Linked DNA regions of Homo sapiens: all the other regions are linked to region 1. The links are contacts of gene promoters, found by promoter capture Hi-C in blood cells and fetal thymus (Javierre and others, 2016). All regions are on one chromosome and are shown on one strand. The core of a region is centred on a gene start or on the middle of the fragment in contact, and the rest is flanking DNA. Distances in the headings are between cores, read along the strand shown. Region 1 holds the start of CNFN (cornifelin). Region 2 holds the start of CEACAM3 (CEA cell adhesion molecule 3). Region 3 overlaps DMRTC2 (DMRT like family C2).

Region 1 (3,349 bases), core at 417-2,916:
GTGCACCGGCAAGACAGTGAGCGCTGCCGGGAGTTCTGGGGACAGGAAGACCCAACCATCTGGGTGGTGCTGGGAGACCAAGGCTTGGGTCCTAATGTGTTGGAGGGAGGGAGGGAGGGAGGGGACACCTGGGATCCCAGCTAGCAGGGTGATCCACCTGCCATCACCCCATACCCGGCGGGGTGATGACACCACCTTCTCTGCAGGTGACACCCCAGTTTTCTAGTGCCTCCTACATTTTTGGGGTGACACCCGTGCTGAGAACCCCACCCAGCTCTAATGCTGCTTCCCTCACTGAGTCACCTCCCAACCCCGTCAGGCCTGTTGGGGGGAAACTTTGGCGATTCAGGCACCCAGACCCCCAGCTCCTTCCCTGCTCAGGAGCCCAGCAGTGTGGAATCCCAGGACCCCTACCCTACTGAGGGATGTGCAGCCTGGCCTCATGAGACGCAGGAGTCCAGGGCCCCAGCCCCTCCTCCCTCAGACCCAGGGGTCCAAGCCCCCACTCCTTTGCTCCATTAGGACCCAGGAGTCCCAGGTGACGTCCACGTCCTTCAGGAACTGCGGCTTTTCAGTTCCCAGCCTCCTCCCTTCCCAATTTGGAGCTGGGGTGAGGTGTGTTTATTTACTTTGGTTCCAACATGAGTCATTCCCCAAAACACACTGCCCCCCATGTGTCTCCTGGCTTGAATGGGGAGGACACTGTCCCCCTCTCCCAGGAAAGTGGGGATATCACTGAGAGAGATGAGCGAGACCCTGAAAGGGGAGTCCCACACAGCACTCTCTCCCACTCCACCCGGCCTTTTTCTCTCCCCACCCATCACCTCTCCCCATTTCCCTGCCCTCTAAGCCTGTTCAGTGATCCCCCCACCTGCCTCTCCACTTTTCCATCTCCGTCTCTCTTCTGTCTCCCATCTCCCCTTTTCTTTCCTTTTTTTTTTTTAAGACAGGGTCTTGCTCTGTCACTGAGGCCGGAGTGTAGTGGCGGGAACACGGCTCACTGCAGCCTCAAACTTCTGGACTCAAGCGATCCTCCTGCCTCAGCCTCTCAAGTAGCTGGGACTACAGGCACATGCCACCATGCCCGGCTAATTCTATTTGTATTTTTTGTAGAGATGGGGTATCCCTATGTTGCCCAGGCTGGTCTTCAACTCCTGGGCTCAAGCGATCCTCTCACCTCAGGCGATTACAGGGTTGGGATTACAGGCGAGAGCCACCATGCCTGGCCCATCTCCCCTCTTCTTGTTATTTCTTTTCACATTTTTGTGCCCCTCTGTTTCTTGGCACCTCTCCATCTCTCTACATCTTCCTGCGTCTCTCCATCTCTCTGAATCTCCTCTCTCTCCTTTCTGTCTAGAGGGACTTCCCTGCCTGCCTTTCTGACACTGTGTTTCTGTCTCTCCCTCTCTTTTGGTCTCTGCGCATTGACCCGGCTGTGGCCCCCCGCCCCCGCCAAACCTCCCACCCCCCGCCACCTTCTTTTCCCTGGGTCCTGGGAGCTGAGGCAGGAGGAGAAGTGGGGGGATGGGAGTGGAGAGGGAGGGCGGGAAATCCCAGTGTGGGGAGAGGGTCGATCAGACCGGCTTGGCTCCCTGGGCACCTCTGTCAGAGCCCCGCCCAGGGCTGCGTGGCCGCCCATATAAGTGGCTCTGGGCTGAGACGGAGAAGTCAGTGCCCGTGTCTCCACACGTCTGCCTCCATCACTGCCATCGCGATCCTGCAGGTAGGAACATCCCCTCCGCAGCCCTCTTCTTTGAGGTTGGGCGCCTCTGCTCTGTTCTCCCTCCTCCTCATCCCACTCATATCACTCTGTCTCCTTTCATATCGCTGATTGTCGGTCTCTCGGGACATCTCTGTCCTTCCCAATGCCCCCAAATCTGTCCTTCTTAACTGGGGTGTGCTGAGCTGAATTTAGAAGTCTTGGGGCCCAGCATCACCTCTATGAACCCCCTTGGCCTGGGCCGTCAGACGTGGGGCGTTCCTCCTCATGTCTCTGAGCCTCAGTGCTCATCTGTGAGATGGGCTTGCAGAGGAGTCAAAGTGCTGGGCACATGTGGGCATTACTGGTGACATCTCTACGGGCACCTGGCTCTGATCTTTCTCCCCTTGTCTCTGACTCTGTCCATCTCCATTTCTTGTTCTCCCTCAAGCTCTATCTCGGGTATGGGGAGGGTCCTCTGCAATCTGTCGGGCAGTTGGAAAGACATGGGCGAGTTTCTCGCCCCCGCCCTATCCATTCCCTATTCCATGTCTCTCCTGGTTGACAGGCTGACTTGGCCTCTTTCTCCCCAGCTCCCCTCCCCCTGAGAGCCCAGCCCCCAGTGCCCCAGTCCCTTGCCCCCACCTCCCCAGTATCCAGCGTCCCTTGGACAGACTCTGCCACTGTTGCCACAGCCACTTCTGCCGTCCCCAACGCCACCTCCTCAGGGCCAGCAAGATGCAGTTTGAGATGCACGACAACGTGAAAGGCAAAGGTGGGACCGCTGGGTGGACCAGCAACCCTCTCAGTACTGGAACCTGGCCGCCTCCCTCCCCTGGGCACCCTTGCTTCGAAGACAGACGGCGCCTGCTTCCACCCCAGAGGCCCCAGAAATGCTGCAACCCAGAACCCAGGCCCAGACGTGGAGGAGGAGGCGGCACCGCCAGGCCCCACCCAGATGTGGTCCCCACCCTTCCTCAGATGTGCAGGAGACCCCCACCCCCAGCCTAACCAGACGTGCAGGAGCCAGCAGCAACAGGGACAGACTGGGGTTGCCGGTGCCCAGATGTAGCAGAAGGGAAGGGGGAGGCACAGTGGTGTCCCTTCAGTGGGCGGCCTGGCGGCCCCGCCCAGACTGCCCGGCACAGGGAAGGGTGGCCGAAGTGCGGGGCCCAGGAGATGCTGCGAGGCTGCCAGCTGACCCCTACCCTCCCACCTCTGCAGCTATGTCCTACCCTGTGACCAGTCAGCCCCAGTGCGCCACCACCAGCTGCTACCAGACCCAGCTCAGTGACTGGCACACAGGTCTCACGGACTGCTGCAACGACATGCCTGTCTGTGAGTGCCTGCCTGCTCCCTCTCCAGGCCTGGTGGAAGATGGGTTTGGGGGGAATCAGGAGAGGGAAGCTCACCTCCAACCTCCTCCCACCGCTTGCTAACCCCACTCCCACCTCCCTTCCCTGGACTTGGAATTCCCACTCTAACAGTCACCCTTTCCTCAGACCCCCAACACTCCTTAGGATACTACCTCATGCCTTCCCACACTCAACTTATCAGGCCCTCAACCTCCCCTTTGCATGCTCAGCTTTCCTCACTGTGACCCCCAACTCCCTCTTCAAACCCTAGCTCCTGGCCCAGTGCAGTGGCTCA
Region 2 (3,349 bases), core at 405-2,904, 590 kb after region 1:
GTCAGGTCCATGGGGAGACCATGGGGTTCTTTTCTGACACTGACCTTGCCCTGCTGAGTCCCCCCATCAGACTGTCCTTCCTCTGCAGCGAGTGTCTGCAGGGTCTGGATGCAGGAAAGGAATTCTGATCTGTGGAAGTTTGTCTCCCCCGTGTGTGTCCTGCACTAAATGTCCAAACCCTGATACAGAATGTAATGCAGAGAGGGCCACAGGCACAGCCCAGGCCTGACAATCCCATATGTGGGAAGTAGAACTGACCCCCAACACCCAGAGGTCATGTGGAAATACTCACGGTATACATGGAACTGTCCAGTTGCTTCTTCATTCACAAGATCTGACTTTATGACTTGTAGGGTGTAGAATCCTATGTCATTCTGGGTGACATTCTGGATCAGCAGGGATGCATTGGTGTATATTGTCTCTCGACCGCTGTATGCGGCCCCTGGGGTAGCTTGTTGAGTTCCTATTACATATCCTACAATTAGACTGTTGCCATCCACTCTTTCCCCTTTGTACCAGCTGTAGCCAAAAAGATGCTGGGGCAGATTGTGGACAAGTAGAAGCACCTCCTTCCCCTCTGCGACACTGAGCGGCATGGATTCAATAGTGAGCTTGGCAGTGGTGGGCGGGTTCCAGAAGTTTAGAAGTGAGGCTAGGAGGGAGAAAGCATCAGTCAATATTGGGACCCATGTATTGGGATGGAAAGATGGGGCCCTGGGTCCTGAGAGAGTCTCTTCACCCTTCAGCCTTGGAGAGTGTATGTGTGTCCCACTTGGTCAAGGTCAGTAACGTGACCTTTCTTTCTTCAGCACCTCTAACCTTGGCATTTTCCTGTGTGGAATCCCCTTCCCCAGGGGTCTGCATGGCTCCCTCCCCACTGCCCTCAGATCCTGCTCACATCAGGGCATCCTTGGGAGATCCCTCCCCTGACACCTCCTCTAGAGACCCTGGGTCTTCCCTTTCTGACCTTTTTCTGCTCTGTTCCCTCCAGGGCTCTTGTCAACACCTGAACTCACATTCTAGATCTCTTTGGGTGTCTATCTTCATCTCTGCAAGAGTGTAAGCTCTTTGAACACAGAGACTTGTCTGATATTTGTTGTACGCCAGTGCCTAAAATTTGATTGCAAATACTGGTGGATGAGTTAAGGAGTGGTGGTTATTTTGCAACTTGTGGTTGGTGGTCAAAGACAGGTTTTAGTGCCCTGGTTATATTTTTATTTAAAGTATCACCCTGATGTAATTCTTATTCTTATCATTTTCTAATTGTAGTGGCCAGTAATGATTAACTTGGAAAACATGATCAATGGATTTTCCTCCCTCTTATCAATCCCAGTTCAATGTGATTGTCTTGTTGTGACCCGTGTCCCTCTCTGATGTTCTCTCCCCTGAGGCTTCAGCAGAAGCCTTCTGTCCCCTATCAGAGCCCCATCCTCCCCAGGAGACCCCAGCCATTCTCTGTGATCCCTCCTCTTGCCCACTCCCAGGAATCCTCCACTCACCTGTGAGCAGAAGCCCCTGCCAGGGGATGCATTCTCTGTGGGGAGAGGCTGAGGGGGGCCCCATGGTCTCTGCTGCCTGCTCTTTCCTCCTCTGTGGAAAAGAGCCTGGGCTCCAGGAATGCTGTAGTCAGGGCTACTGTGACTTAGGCTCTGCTGTCCTTCCTCTTTCCATGCTGAGCCTCCTCCCAGGGCAGGAGCACTTTCCAGGGTCATGGGTGAAGCTCTGCCCAGGTCACCTCTCTGTCCCCTCCCCTCTCAGTTTTGCCTCATTTTCTCTTCTTCCTTTCTCCCTTCTGTCTACATTTGAGTTCCCCAGACCAGGCTCTGAGAAGCAAGGCTTACTTGGATCCCTGTTTCATAACAGGATGACCCTCCCTCCCCAGCGTGGACCTCTGCTCTGCCTTGGCCTTGGGTCTGTCAGCACCATGCAGAGTCCCTGGGGTCCCTGAACCTGGTGTTATTTTCTCTGTGACGGAGAAACTCCTTTGTGTGTGCAGGGTCTTCTTACTGTTCTCACATGTCTGGGAAGGTTGGATTTACTCCCAGCAAGGAGGTCACAGAGATGTCTGGGGTCCTACAAATGGATATATCTAGGGCTAAAGCCCGGATCTAAGATTCTGAGCTGTTCTTTCTGCAGCATTATGTGACTCTAATTTCCTGGGAGTAACTGAGAATGAGGCTTCACAGTGCTGTAGCTTTATGTCATCCAGACACCAGACATTTCTAGGCTGACTTTATGATTTTCTCTCTAGCTTGTACCACCTTTATTATTATATATTTCATCCTTTTTTCTAAATAAATTTAGTTTACAAAACATCCTGTCCTAGCAGGGATCGGTGGCTCAGATCTGTGATCCCAGCTACTCGAGAGGCTATGGTGGGAGGATGGCTTGAGGCCAGGAGTTGGAGACAAAACATCCTTGTCTTATGCAATATTGTCCATGAAATTACAGATTTGATGTGTGCTTAAATGTTTTCTCAATGTATATTAAAATAAACGCATAAGTATTAAAGTTTTTAAAAAGCTTACTTACGTTTCGCCTAAAATCAGTTTTTGGAAATGCTGACACAGTGGCATAAACATGAACTTTATGTCCAGATGTACCTGGGGACAGCTAATGGTTCTGTCACTTAACTATGTTGACTTGGACAAGTCACGTGGCTTCTATGATCCTTGATTCCCTGATTTGTAAAAGGAGGATGGTAAAATCCTCCTTGCAGAGTTGTTGGGAATAAGTGAGCTGCTGTGGGAGCCCCGTGCCCAGGCGGGTGTTGAGTACATGGTGGTTGTCATCGTGGTTATTGCTGTGGAATTCTGGTTTTCAAAGAGTGTCTACGCCGGAATATTGGGCTTGTGGCTTTCTGCTGATGTGGATGTGTGAAAAAGCTACTTTTGCTTGTTAGAACTTGTGGTGCATCTGTCATTATTTTCATTTCCCAGTTCCACTACCTATTTTCTCTGTGATGTTGGTCAAGTTGCCTAACTTTTCTGTGCCTCATTTACCTAATTTGTGAAATGTGGGTAACAGTACACTAGTGTGGGTGTGTTATTTCCCAGCTCTGACCACTAGAGGGCATAGAAGCACCGGCACCTACTAGCAATGGGCATATGGGCGCCCATGGTCTGTAAACATCATTCTCCCATGAAAGGAACCAGGGTTCCCTGGAGAAATGGCTGATTCCAGGGCTGGGGCAGGAAACCACAAGAGGAGACTGGAGCATCTTGCGGGGCCTGAGAGTAAGGCACAACTTGAAAAATGATGGGGATGTGTGGAAAGTATCACAAATGCCAACTAGAAGAAGCTCCCAATGGCCAATTTGGGGACAATATAGCAACATAATCAATAATAA
Region 3 (3,349 bases), core at 441-2,940, 540 kb after region 1:
CCCCTCTTTTTACCGAATCCAATCCAGGCCTCATCATTGTTCTCCTGGATTATTTCACAGACCTCCTTGCTAATTTTCCCACCTCCAGTCTTGCCTCCTCCAAACCGTCCATCAAAGCCACCCACTTGTCTTTCTAAAGCTCAGGGTCTCTGAATTTGTCCTTGCTTAGTTCAGAAACGTTCCCTGGCTCCCCTTCACATACAGTTGCTGTTCTAGACACCTAAGCCTGGCATGCCAGATCTCCACCATCAGAAGCCTCTCCAGCCTCCTTTCCCTCTGTTCTAGCATTTCCTCCAGGCCAGTCTGCCCAATCCACTATTTGGACAAGAGAATTCGCAGCTTTCCCTGTCTGTCCCCCTAGGTGTTTCTCACTCTTCAAGGTTCCTCCAATCTTCTTCAGGTTTGTCACTGAGCCTTGTGAAGGCATCCAATTTCCCTAACTAGAACGTAAGCTCCTTGAAGGCACTTATCAGACCTCCTCCCAGGCCAGACCCCACTTCAGACTTCAGCAGGCAGCCTGGGTCCAGAGACAGAGCATTGGGTTCCCTGCCACTGTCTCACTATATGCCCTTGGGCAAGTCCCTGCCTTTCTCAGTGCCCCACTTTCCTTGATATCAAGAAATTTGCTGTCGAGTGCCAAACTGATAAAAAGGATTCACTGAATAACTCTCAACTGCAATCCCAGGGGCCAGGCTGAGGAGCTTGGGGTCCTGGGCCTGAAGACGTTCAACCTGTCGACCCCCTCATCTCCTTGGTTAGTCCCTGTGTACTTCAGTGATCTCCATTTCCCAGCCATCCCTATCCATCCTCTCCTTTCATGGCCCACCTGGTGGGCCACAGGGGTGAAGCAGGGAGATCCAGGCAGGGTTGGGGGGCACAGAAGGGGTCACACGAGGAGCCTGGGATGAATCTTTCAGCCCCACGAGGGCTTCAGCTGCCTCTTGCTGCAGCTGCCACTCTGAGGGGCCAGATGTCCGGGCCAGGCACGAGGCTCCAGAGGCCTGCAAGGGAAAGGGAGACAAGCAGACTGGGAACCCCCGCTTCTGCCCACCCTCTAAGTGTTCCTCAGCCCCTGCTTCCTTCAGTTTCCTGCTTTTTCCTTCCCCAGGCTCAACCTCCTCCCAGGGCCCTAGATCCCACTTCTTTCCCAGGACCTGTGGCTGTAGCTGAAGAGGGTCTGGGGTGCCACAGGGCTGGAGTATCAGAGTTGAGTGTCTAGAAACAAGGAGAGAAGATGCCAGGGTGGTTAAACAGATGAACAGACATGCACACATTGAAAGAGGGGCAGGATTTTGCCATGTTTTGATCTGGGAATCTGAGAGCCTGCTGGGCCATTAAGCTGTGTCTTGACTTATTTTGTTTTCAGTAAAGTAAAAATCCTTGCCAGTTTTTCCTCCCAGGGCTACTGTGAGGATTATGGGAAATCACTAGTGTCTTTTTTTTTTTTGAGACAGGCTCTTGCTCTGTCACCTAGGCTGGAGTGCAGTGGCGGTGTGATCATGGCTCACCATAAGCTTGAACTCCTGGGCCTACACCATCTTCCCACCTCAGCCTCCTAAGTAGCCAGGAAAACAGGTGTGCACCACCATTCCTGGCTGTTTTAATTTTTTTGTAGAGACGAAGTCTCGCTCAGTTACTCAGGTGGTCTCAAACTCTTGGCCTCAAGTAATCCTCCCACCTCAGCCTCCCAAAGTGTTGGGATTACAGGTGTGAGCCACCAGGCCCCACCTGATGCCGGTTTTTAAAAAAACACCTAGAAGACTGAGATTACTGTCCCTGACCTATCAGAGTCTGGGTCCCATTCCCCCAGTTCCCCAGTCACCATAGAACTTGAAGGAGAGCTTGGCTCACCTTTGGGAAGCTTTTCCTAATGGCCTCTGGCCCCTCTCCTGGGTCTCTGAGGCTCTCATCATCTCTGCCCCCCATATCAGCAGGCAATCTTACCCCATCAAATCTGTCTAAGCAGATATAACAGCTACCATTAAAGAGTCTGTGCTAGGTCTATTCCATACATTATTGCTAATTCTTACAACAATCAGAGAGGTAAGTAATAGTGTCTCCAATTTACTGATAGAAAAACAGGCTCAGAGAGGTAAAGATAATTGTCCAAAGCATCACAGCTAGGAAATGGCAGTACTAGGAGAGCTCTGCCTTGCCTATTAGTCAGAGACCTTTTCATCTTCATTATCCACTGTGGTTGGACACCAGCACTGTGGTTGGACACAGCACAGGCTTAGGCTTATGATACACATCCTTCTCTCCCTACTCACGTGCGGGGCTGGCTAGGGGGCCCTTGGGGCTCTCCAGAAAGAGGAGCTGTCAGTACTGGGTGAGATCCTGGGCAGGTGGTGAAGGGCCCATGAGTGGGCAGCTGGAGGGAGGTGCCAGGGTCAAAGCCTAATAAGAATAAAAGAATGCAGAGTGTATAGGGGCCAAGGTCATAGTTTCTTTCCTCCCTCTCCCCACCTATGCTTTCTTCCTCTTCCCTCTCCAATATGTGGCAGATTGGCACTCAAATATATGTTGAATGAATGTTGAATTATCATCTTACCAGGGAAGGGAGGCAGAGAGACAGCAGGTTCTTGGTACAGCAGGCGGCACACCACTGGTGGTGGCATGGAGAAGCCTGGAGGCAGCCAGTGTCCAGGGACCCAAGGGCCAGGAGGCACCGGAGTCCAGGACAAGGGCGAGGCTTCCGGGGGATGGCTGAGCAGCAGAGGCCCACAGGAGTTCTGCAGGGGCAGAGGGCACAGGCTGGAGTTGGGTACAAGGCTGGAAAAGGATTGAGTGTATTCTGGGATACGGGCAGAACCCCAAAACTTTGGGGCTGGGAGGCCCTCGTTTTCCCCTCATTTTGCCTAGAGAAGAGCAGTGATTTGACTAGATTACATAGCAAACCAGGGCTGGGGCTAGAACCCAGGTGTTGAGGGCACAGAAGAAAGGGTCTGGGTAGGAACTAGGGTGGGGGACACTTTCTCAGGCCCCAGCCTCTCCTTACCTTCCCGGGGGGTGTCGGTGCCAGCAGGACTGCCCCATGGGGGGTCTGAGGCTGGGGTGCTATGTTCTCCTTTCCAGCTGTGAAGGACCAGGGAGAGCTCTAATGAGCCCTTTCTCCTGACCCCTATCCTACCCCAACCCCAGACAGTTCTCATCTCCCCCATCTAGCTCATTTTTTTTTTTTGAGATGGAGTCTTGCTGTGTCGCCCAGGCTGGAGTGCAGTGGCGTGATCTTGGCTCACTACAACCTCCGCCTCCTGGGTTCAAGTGATTCTCCTGCCTCAGCTTCCCGAGTAGCTGGGACTACAGGCATGCGCCACCAAGCCCAGCTAATTTTTGTATTTTTAGTAGA

What was found. The method cuts DNA at HindIII sites, captures the fragments that hold promoters and counts their contacts. A CHiCAGO score of 5 or more calls a contact.
Region 2: the fragment with the promoter of CEACAM3 here is called in contact with the fragment with the promoter of CNFN in region 1 in 8 of 17 cell types (naive CD4 T cells, non-activated CD4 T cells, total CD8 T cells and 5 more); the score reaches 7.1 in naive CD4 T cells.
Region 3: a fragment that was not itself captured here is called in contact with the fragment with the promoter of CNFN in region 1 in 1 of 17 cell types (naive B cells); the score reaches 6.3 in naive B cells.

What each region holds. Positions count from the first base shown.
Region 1 is chr19:42,388,614-42,391,962 of GRCh38, reverse strand. CNFN (cornifelin) reads left to right here and starts at 1,666. Exons shown (of 4, transcript NM_032488.4): 1 at 1,666-1,723; 2 at 2,924-3,037. The coding sequence starts at 2,926. The HindIII fragment of the contact is 9,287 bases long and covers 1-3,349 here.
Region 2 is chr19:41,794,892-41,798,240 of GRCh38, reverse strand. CEACAM3 (CEA cell adhesion molecule 3) reads right to left here and starts at 1,654. Exons shown (of 7, transcript NM_001815.5): 1 at 1,500-1,654; 2 at 293-652. The coding sequence starts at 1,563. The HindIII fragment of the contact is 3,675 bases long and covers 1-2,525 here.
Region 3 is chr19:41,848,178-41,851,526 of GRCh38, reverse strand. DMRTC2 (DMRT like family C2) reads right to left here. Exons shown (of 9, transcript NM_001040283.3): 4 at 2,999-3,075; 5 at 2,552-2,732; 6 at 2,271-2,397; 7 at 1,155-1,215; 8 at 827-1,001. Among named protein-coding and RNA genes, the nearest start is that of DMRTC2, 4.8 kb to the right of the region's middle. The HindIII fragment of the contact is 347 bases long and covers 1,517-1,863 here.